Regions from separate parts of the Homo sapiens genome. Here region 1 is linked to region 2. Evidence: promoter capture Hi-C in 16 types of primary human blood cells and fetal thymus (Javierre and others, 2016). All regions are on one chromosome and are shown on one strand. The core of a region is centred on a gene start or on the middle of the fragment in contact, and the rest is flanking DNA. Distances in the headings are between cores, read along the strand shown.

The links. The method cuts DNA at HindIII sites, captures the fragments that hold promoters and counts their contacts. A CHiCAGO score of 5 or more calls a contact.
Region 1: the fragment with the promoter of TUBE1 here is called in contact with the fragment with the promoter of HACE1 in region 2 in 1 of 17 cell types (non-activated CD4 T cells); the score reaches 6.3 in non-activated CD4 T cells.

What each region holds. Positions count from the first base shown.
Region 1 is chr6:112,084,829-112,089,263 of GRCh38, reverse strand. TUBE1 (tubulin epsilon 1) reads left to right here and starts at 1,782. Exons shown (of 12, transcript NM_016262.5): 1 at 1,782-1,854; 2 at 1,958-2,031; 3 at 2,656-2,708. The coding sequence starts at 1,830. FAM229B (family with sequence similarity 229 member B) reads right to left here and starts at 1,673. Exons shown (of 4, transcript NM_001033564.3): 1 at 1,544-1,673. RefSeq lists enhancers at 1,613-1,802, 1,537-2,068, 2,203-2,252. The HindIII fragment of the contact is 2,028 bases long and covers 1,153-3,180 here.
Region 2 is chr6:104,858,023-104,862,213 of GRCh38, reverse strand. HACE1 (HECT domain and ankyrin repeat containing E3 ubiquitin protein ligase 1) reads left to right here and starts at 2,295. Exons shown (of 24, transcript NM_020771.4): 1 at 2,295-2,647. The coding sequence starts at 2,572. It also overlaps the pseudogene LOC100422315. RefSeq lists enhancers at 2,206-2,500, 2,115-2,614 and a silencer at 2,237-2,866. The HindIII fragment of the contact is 1,298 bases long and covers 2,165-3,462 here.

The DNA.
Region 1 (4,435 bases), core at 533-3,032, 7.2 Mb before region 2:
TAGGAGTCCATAGGATTCCCAATAATTTTTTTCTTTTTCATTTTCAGCATGTGGAATTCTGTTCACTCTATTTGCTCTGTATGTTGGTCAGCTATCACTACAATAAAACTGCACCCCAAAATTTCAGTAATTTCAACCAAAAACATTTCTCTTGCTTATAATATTCTGAATAGCCCGCTGCGGTTCAACCGATCTCAACTTGGCTCACCCGGGTTTGCATATACGGAAGTTTTGGAGTGGCTGGCATGTGAGGCTCTACCTTGCTTGGCTCTTAAGCAGAACTGTCTCTCAGTCTGATTCTCTAGAGACTGAAGTTATTAATAAGATGTGTTAGGACTTTTCTTTCCTGTGTGGGGAATAATGACTGGGACTGCATGAAGGGTAGGGCTCTGCAAAGGCCAGTGTATCATCTCACCTAGCACTGATAACACACTGATACAGACCTATTCACATCACTGCCTACAAACTGGACCAAGACTTGCAAATTTTGGAAGCCCCAGACGTTGGGACTTTAGCATCAAGACCTAAAATGCCCAACTTTACCTCTACCACTGACCCCATACTCAGTAAGAAGTTAAGAATAAATCCAGCCTACAAAAATTTACTGACCGAAAGCTGCCTATTACCAAAAGATATAAAATCCATTGCAACTTTAAACCTACCGGCTACCAGAGAAATTTAATAGTAACTACTACGTGTCTTGGTGGGACAATAAAGTGTTCTAATCCATTGAATATTACAGTTCATATTAGCACATATTCATAGCACATACCATATAACTTTTTATTAAACAAAGAAGACTTCTTAGAGTTTCGTAGTTCTTCAGAATTTTTGTGGAAAATATTAATTTCATTAAAGAAGTACTTGAGTTCTTAATTAAAATCTGGTCTAATTTGATCAATAGAAGTTTACATATTTTAATGTTTGACAATTTTAAGTAGTTGGTAATTGTCATAATGCCTAACTTTTTAATCTTCTCCTGCCTATCCCATCTAAATACCCATCTAAATGCCTAGTGTTAATCTCGTGTCTTCTATCAGACTTCTACATACTCATCTACATCCTCAACCACTGAATCCTATTGCACTTATAGTCAACGCCACACAATTCTTTAAGTATTTCGCGTGTATGTCTTCAATTAGATTGTAAGCTTCTTGGAACTGGATCTATGCCTTAATTTCTTTCTAATCTTCCCAGCGAGCCTACAAGTTAATTTGGGGAGTATACAGCGTTCAACAAATACTGGTTGGGTCTGTGACCTTAGCTTTGCCATTTTTGTCAAAGCGTATAACCATCTAGTTTCAATTGTGCCCTGACATGACTATTTCTCTGGGGTTTCTCTTTGCTCAACGCCATTGTTCATTTTCTATTAGAATAAAGGGCTTGTTGAACAGAGATGCCAACGCAGCGTCCCGTGGAATCTGAATAAACGGACTGATCCACCGCCCCGGGTGTTGAGGCTGTGAACAAAAATTAAACCTCTGATAGCCCACGAACAGCTTAACGACACATATTTTAAAATACCACTCCAAAGCCTAGTTACCTGCCAGTTACCCCGGCCTCCGGAGCTGCCGATGCTCGAAGATGTTGACAAGGCAGCTAGGATATACAGTCCAGAAGCCCAGTCGCTACGGTAACGGTGACACGCAAGTGCACTTGCGCGGCCTTCTGACGGAAAACCTTAGCCTGAACCTACAGACGTGCTTAGCGACGGCAGAGGCTTGCGGCAGTAGCGTGACTTACGGCAGCTCTCTAGCAGAGCGCCGTTGCTGGGGGAATGCAGAAGCGGCCGCGGGCTAGCAAGCTCCCGGAGCCGGCGGCGCACCACCATGACCCAGTCGGTGGTCGTACAGGGTAAGCTACGCCGGGCGGGTAGAGACCTGGTCGCCGCGGAATCCAGCGGCCATGTTTCCTGCTTAATGTCCTATTCTCTTTCCTTCCTCTCCTCCGGTCGCAGTCGGCCAGTGCGGAAACCAGATCGGCTGCTGCTTCTGGGACCTGGCACTAAGGGAGCACGCCGCGGTCAACCAGGTACCCGCCCGCCGCCGCGAGCCCCCTCGCCTGTCAGCTAGGTCTTCCAGCCCATACGCAGGAAATAATCGACTTGAGCTTTCATCTGACCCGTTTAAGATGCATGGGATCTTCCCAGTAAAGAACGTACTGGTTTTTAAACATGTTGCGTCAGACACACACTAAACTAAAAGAACACTGGCCAGCGACCTTAGTCTTAACGTTTTTCCTGATTCTCAGGGTCTCCTCTTTATTGGTGTTCGTGTGCAGAACAGTGAGATTTGTATATGGGAAAGTACTTTGTAAAATAGATAACACGTGTGGTTATTGTATTCCTTAATTTAACCAGTCAGCTTTTAAAAAGATTACGAAGAATCCAGAGAACGCTCATTTGATGGACCTGTCCTACAGTCCTATGGGTGAAATCCTTTCTTTAGCACCCCCTGCTGAACTTTTTATCTGTAGATCTGGCATTTACTCTTCTAAGGAGATTGGGAAGAGTCAGGCTCCGCATTTTGTGATACTTGGTTTTTCTTATCAGAGTCTCATCCTAGCCATTACAGTATTATGTAATTAAAATTGAAAGAACTTGATTTGGGCGAGAAGCAAAACCTAAATGCTATTAACATATGTTTTTCTTTTTAGAAAGGAATTTATGATGAGGCAATAAGCAGCTTCTTTAGAAATGTGGACACCAGGTAAGATGGGATTAAAGTCTGTCACAGTGTGATACTTTAAGTTTCAGTAGCTTGGGAGAGAATTCTTCAAAGGACAATAAAAATAGCCAGCTGCGAAGTTGTGTTTTTTTGTTTCATTATTGAAAGCATATTTATTCTATTAGATTATTAATATTCTTATATCATTTTCCCGAAGAAGACAACAGATTTCCCTTTAGTGTGACTTCTTTTAACTTAACCTTGAAATAAGTTTCATTAAAAGAAAGCTGAAATTTTCCCAGAGGGCATCTTGTTAATGCATCCTGTAATAACTAACTTTTGAAAGAAAAATATATTGTTTACATATATGCTGTAAGTATAAAAATATACTTAAAAAGGTGACAAGCAGTTGTTGGATTGTTTTTGTTTATTTAATAAAGAGTATATGTAAGTACCATATATGTTTTATCTGGAAGAGTAATTTAAGTTGCCGTTTAGGATATCTCCATAAGCTTTTAATATTAAATCATTAAGTTCATGCATTTTCAAAATACTTCATAAAACTAACTGTCCTGTGCTTAAACTGAAAAATACATACTTCGTGTCAGGCTTTAATCCAATAGGAACATCAGTTCTAGTTTAAAATAGTTGGCTGGGTGTGTGAGCAGTTATCTTCAGAGAAAGCTGATTAGTCCGCGCTTCCTGGGTGAATTCCAGAGTCTATCTAGGGCACTGGCTTGCAAACTCAGAAGTGTCATTGGCATCTCGAGATGGGTTCAGTGCTCTCCAGTACAGCCAGGTTAACCAAAGACCAAATTCTCATTTTCATAGGCACATTACTTTATCTTTTGTAGGAAATCTAACTGAAAAGCTGTGTAATAATCTGAAGGTTGCTTGGTGACCATGGAATCAGACCAAAGGAAGTTAGTTACTTTAATGGCTGGTATCATTTATATTTATTTTATGGAGATATCTGTCATATAGACTATAGATTCCCTCTTATTTGTAGCCCACAATATCCTCACCTCTAAATTCTCTTAGGAGACTCAAATTTGCTTCTGTCATACTTCCTTTCCGGCGCTTCTCTTGCTAAGTTCCTACACCCACCTCTTTACTTCTTGTTACCCAACGCTTACATTGAGTATTACATAGTTGAGACTCAGCCTGGGAGCTTTTCTTTCTTCATAAGGTGACTCTTCATAACTACACTCTCATCTACTCTGTGTGTTTTATACTTTAACCTGAGAGCACTATTATTTTCCCGGTAAGTTTGGCAAACAGGGTTGTGGCATCTTGCACTTCTTTCTGTGTACTATCAACACATGCAGCATCTGTTCCACAGCTTAGTACAAAAAATATTTTTCAAAGTAAAACCATATCTTTGTGTACTATTCTTATCAAATTTTTATACCTTTTGAGTAGCATGATAGGAATTTACCTACAGCATGGGTTGGCATGCATATATTTTCTGTAAAGGACCAGGCAGTAAATATTTTAGGTTTTGTGAACCATAAAGTCTTTTGCACCACTACTTGATCTGTAGCATGATTGTGGGCATAGGTAATACATAAAGGAATGGGTGTGTCCACATTTGAATAAAATTTTATTTAGGAAAACAGGCAGCTAGTTGAATTTGGCCTGATGATTGGCTACCCTTCATATATTCCGTCTTGTGAACTGTCTTTATTGACCCATATACTGCGTTAGATTTTAGTACTTTGGCAACTTATTTCCAACGTGAAATTCTGAGAACAACCTTAGATACTCAA
Region 2 (4,191 bases), core at 1,046-3,545:
AAGTGCCCTTTTGAAACTTCCACTTGATGTTTTTGGTGTTGGTGACAGGTGAGAAAATCTACTCTTTAGCTAATAATAATCTATAAGAAGCTGTTTAGCTGTTTTGGTGTTCTCCTGGGCAGCTTTCTTCTTGGTGTGATAAGTTGCCCTGTCTAATACGGTAACCACAAGGCACATACAGCTATTTAACTTAATTAGTTTCATTACTTATACTTTAATACAAATTTAAAATTCAGTTGCACCAGCCACATTTCAAGCACCCAGTAACCCCATTTGGTTAGTGGATGCTATTTTGGACATTGCAGATTATAGAATATTTCTATCATTGCAGAAAGTTCTGTTGGACAGGAGGTGATAAGCTGATAGTAGTACTGCAGCTTTATACATTTTGAAGCAGAGCTATTGGGAGACGGCATCATATTGCAGAATTTGGAACTGACAATTCACATCAGCATTACCTGTTCCATTATCTTCTGCTCCTGTGGTGAACAGTGACCAGCATGAGATGCAATGCCCACCATGGAGGCTGCTGGGGGCTCCTACCCCTGCCCACAAACTCCAGGCTTGGTCCTCACAGGACGTTGGAGGTAATTTATATGGAGCAACAGCCTAGAGAGCAATGGTGATAACAGCAGCTGAGAGAAGCTGAGGGGCCAACTTCTGTACAGCAGTGGGAATCCTGACTTTTTGAATAGCATAAGAGGCCAAGCAAGACTGGAACATTTTTAGTTGAAGCCAGGTTGCAAATGGTTGAGCCTGGGCTAGACTGGTCCATAACGTCTGGTATTTCTTTCTTCCTTTCCTTTTTTTTTGAGACAGGGTCTCGCTCTGTCACCCAGGCTGGAGTGCAATGGCAGGATCTCAGCTCACTGCAGCCTCTGTCTCTCGGGTTCAAGCGATTCTCCTGCCTAAGCCTCCCGAGTAGCTGGGATTTCAGAGGCACACCACCACGCCCGGCTAATTTTTGTATATACATATTTTTAGTAGAGACAGGGTTTTACCATGTTGGCCAGGCTGGTCTCAAACTCCTGACCTCAAGTGATCCGCCTGCCTTGGCCTCACAAAGTGCTGGGATTACAGGCATGAGCCACTGCGCCCAGCCTCTGGTATTCTTTTGAAACTTTGACCTCTACCACCTTGTTGCCAGACTGGTTTAGGTATCATCTGATTAGGTGAAGATTACAGAGGTCTTCCCCGTGCCTGTGGCACCACTGGCACAAATGGTCACTAGCTGGAACTGATTTAGGACGGCACTGGCAGGGAAAACACATGCCAACCACCATCTGCCCCTTCATATCCTGAATGGGCAGGTGAGACTCTCTTTCACTTGGCCAGCCAACATACATCATCAACGTACATGTGCCCATTCATTTCAGGAACAGCTTTGTCTCTTTGAGGAAGAGAAGCTGAAAAAGACAAGCCTTTTGTTTCTCCCTCACTCCAGCATCATCTTGGCACTGGTAATATATCCAAGATATATTGGTGTTAGCCAGGCTCACATTTACCCCTTTGATTGGGTTAATTTTTTGAAGTTCCAACTTCTGTTGTTTCAAGTGTTCAACTTCTGTGCAGAGCTTATGAATATGATTTTTCGCCACTGAGTTCATTTCTTCCACAATGTAGGTATCCAAATTTTTTGTAACTTACAAAGTCAAATCCTTTGGATTTCCCACTAGGCTGTGTCATCACATAGACACTTTAGCATTGTACCAAATAAATGAAAAAATTTTTTCAGGTTGTCATCATTCATATCTTCCCCAGAGCTTTAACTTTGTGCTAGGTGCCTTGTTAAGTACAGGGATACAACACAGTTCAAGATTAAATGTCCCTGCCCTCATAAAGCCGCCCGGCAGGAAAAACAACTAATTAAGCTATTGTCAAGTTATTTACAATGAAGACAAAAGCACAATATGCTTTTGGATTTGTTTGATTTTATTACTCTTTAAGTTTGACATATGAAAATACCATACTTAAAACAGTTCATGTAGGGTACCTGAAACAAAGGCACTAATACAGTACTAGAAAGGTGGTGACGGATTTAAGAACAATTGTGCCAATTTCTAATCTGTTTTATAGTAAAGTTATAGAATTGGAGGAAACTGCTCCTGTACAACTTTGGAGGAGGGTAGGAGGAGCAGGGCGTGAGAATGCCTTTCCAGAAGCTTAGGAGTACGCCCAGTCGCTGCGTGGCTTCCCGCATACTCAGCCCTGCGCCCGCGTTGGCGTGGCCTGGGCGCCCCCAACGTGACTCCGCCCAGGGCGCTCCGTTCTGCCAGCTGGAAACTACAGTTCCCAGAAGGCCACGCGAGCCCGGGAGGGACGCGGCGGCGGGGGCTGCAGGAAAGGCGCGAGCAGAGGCGGCGGCGGGTGTACTGTAGGTGGTCGGTCCGGCAGCAGCCCGGCCCCCGGACGCAGGACGTGGCCCCAGGCAGCCCTCGCAGCTCAGTGCTCTAGCCGGGGCAAGCCCGCGTCTCCGCCTGCTGGACGGGCCCAGGCGAGATGTAGGGCTCTGGGCGCGGAGGCCGCCGGTGGGGCGGCTGATCGCGGAGGATCGCGGAGGGCGCGCCGAGGATGGAGAGAGCGATGGAGCAACTCAACCGCCTGACGCGCTCGCTGCGCCGCGCGCGCACCGTGGAGTTGCCCGAGGGTGAGCCGGGTCGCGGGGCCAGGCTGGCCGCGGGGCTGGGGGCGGCCAGTGGGGCAGGAGCTCCGGCCGCGTCAAGGTCGGGTGGAAAAACTAACTGAAAGCTGAGAAAACGCCCACTTTTACTTTCCAGAGCTGAGAGGCGGCCCCGGGCCCCGAACTCCCCTGGCCCGACGCTCCCACCCCGGCAGGTGGGAGTTTTCGGGAGGAAACTGGGTTGGTGGGGGTTCCGCTGCTGGGAGGAGCGAGACAAAGGTCTCGCAACGTCTGTCGATTAGGGGTCTTGGCAAAGGGGCAGGAATACCAGCCGGAGGCCCGAGACCCGGAGTCAGAAAACATCATAATTGCGGGTCATTTAACAGTAGCTGGGGATAGAGATGATCCAAAGATACTGTTTACTTTAAGCTGCATCGGGGGGCCAGGCGGGCTTTTATTTTTGTTATTTTTTAAAATGTGGGGCACTGCCTTGTTTTGATAACAGGCAAACAAAGGGTTGTCAAACATCAAACAGGTACTCTTAAAGTACTGTATGGGTAAACACAATATATTTTTCTTTAATATGCATGCCTGCCTTCATTCTTCATTTATTCATCAGACTAGTATTGAGTGGGCTAGCTGGTAACTAGGACGCATCTGCAAAGAGGAATAAGGCATGGTCCCTGAGGATCAGGACTTTTAGTTCAGCGTGCCAGGGTTCCCTCAGGACAGGTAAAACTCTGCTAATAACAAGGAGAGAAAATAAGCAGTTTTGTTTGCAGCGTCAGGAATTCAGACATTTTAGTGGTGATGGGAGACAGCAGTGCTGCTTCTAAGAAGCTTTTGGCTCTTTATGCCCAAGTGAGAGAAGGGTTGGGAGGAGGTTGTAGCTGGTGAATAGCTTTTTTCTTAATTGTAGTAGTTTATCTTACTTTTTCAAAACTCTCTTTGAATTGCTGCTGGGTGGTTTGTAGGATAGGGAAGGAGACCTTGGCAGACGGTCATGAAAGAAATGTGGGATTGGGTACTTTGGCGATAATTTTCTTTCCTTTCTTTTATAGAGATGAGGTCTCACTATGTTCCCCAGGCTGGTCTTGAACTCCTGGGCTCAAGTGATCCGCACCCTGCTCCCCCCAAAGTGTTGGGATTACAGATGTGAGCCACCGCGCCTGGCCTGGGGATAATCTTCTTGAAAAAATGGTCTCTAGTCTCTATTTAGAATTCAGATTTTGGTAACTAGATTCTAGCTTCAACTTTTTCTATATTTTCTTTCCAACTTCCACCTTTGAATCCATTTCTTAAGTGCTACTCTTACTTATTTTTCGTAGTCGAATTATTGGTATAGCTTTATGAAGACTACATGTATAATTTATATTGTCTAGTTTGAATCCCGATATTTTTTACATAAATGTGATTTAGAAGACTTTGATAATGTTACTTGGTTTTAAAAGTAATATAGTTTCATTGTAGAAAATTTGGAAAATAAAGAAAAATAGAAAAAAATATGTCATTTCACCATCCAGTTATAAACAGTGTTACCATTGTTATTTCTTTTTCCCTCCCTAACAAGT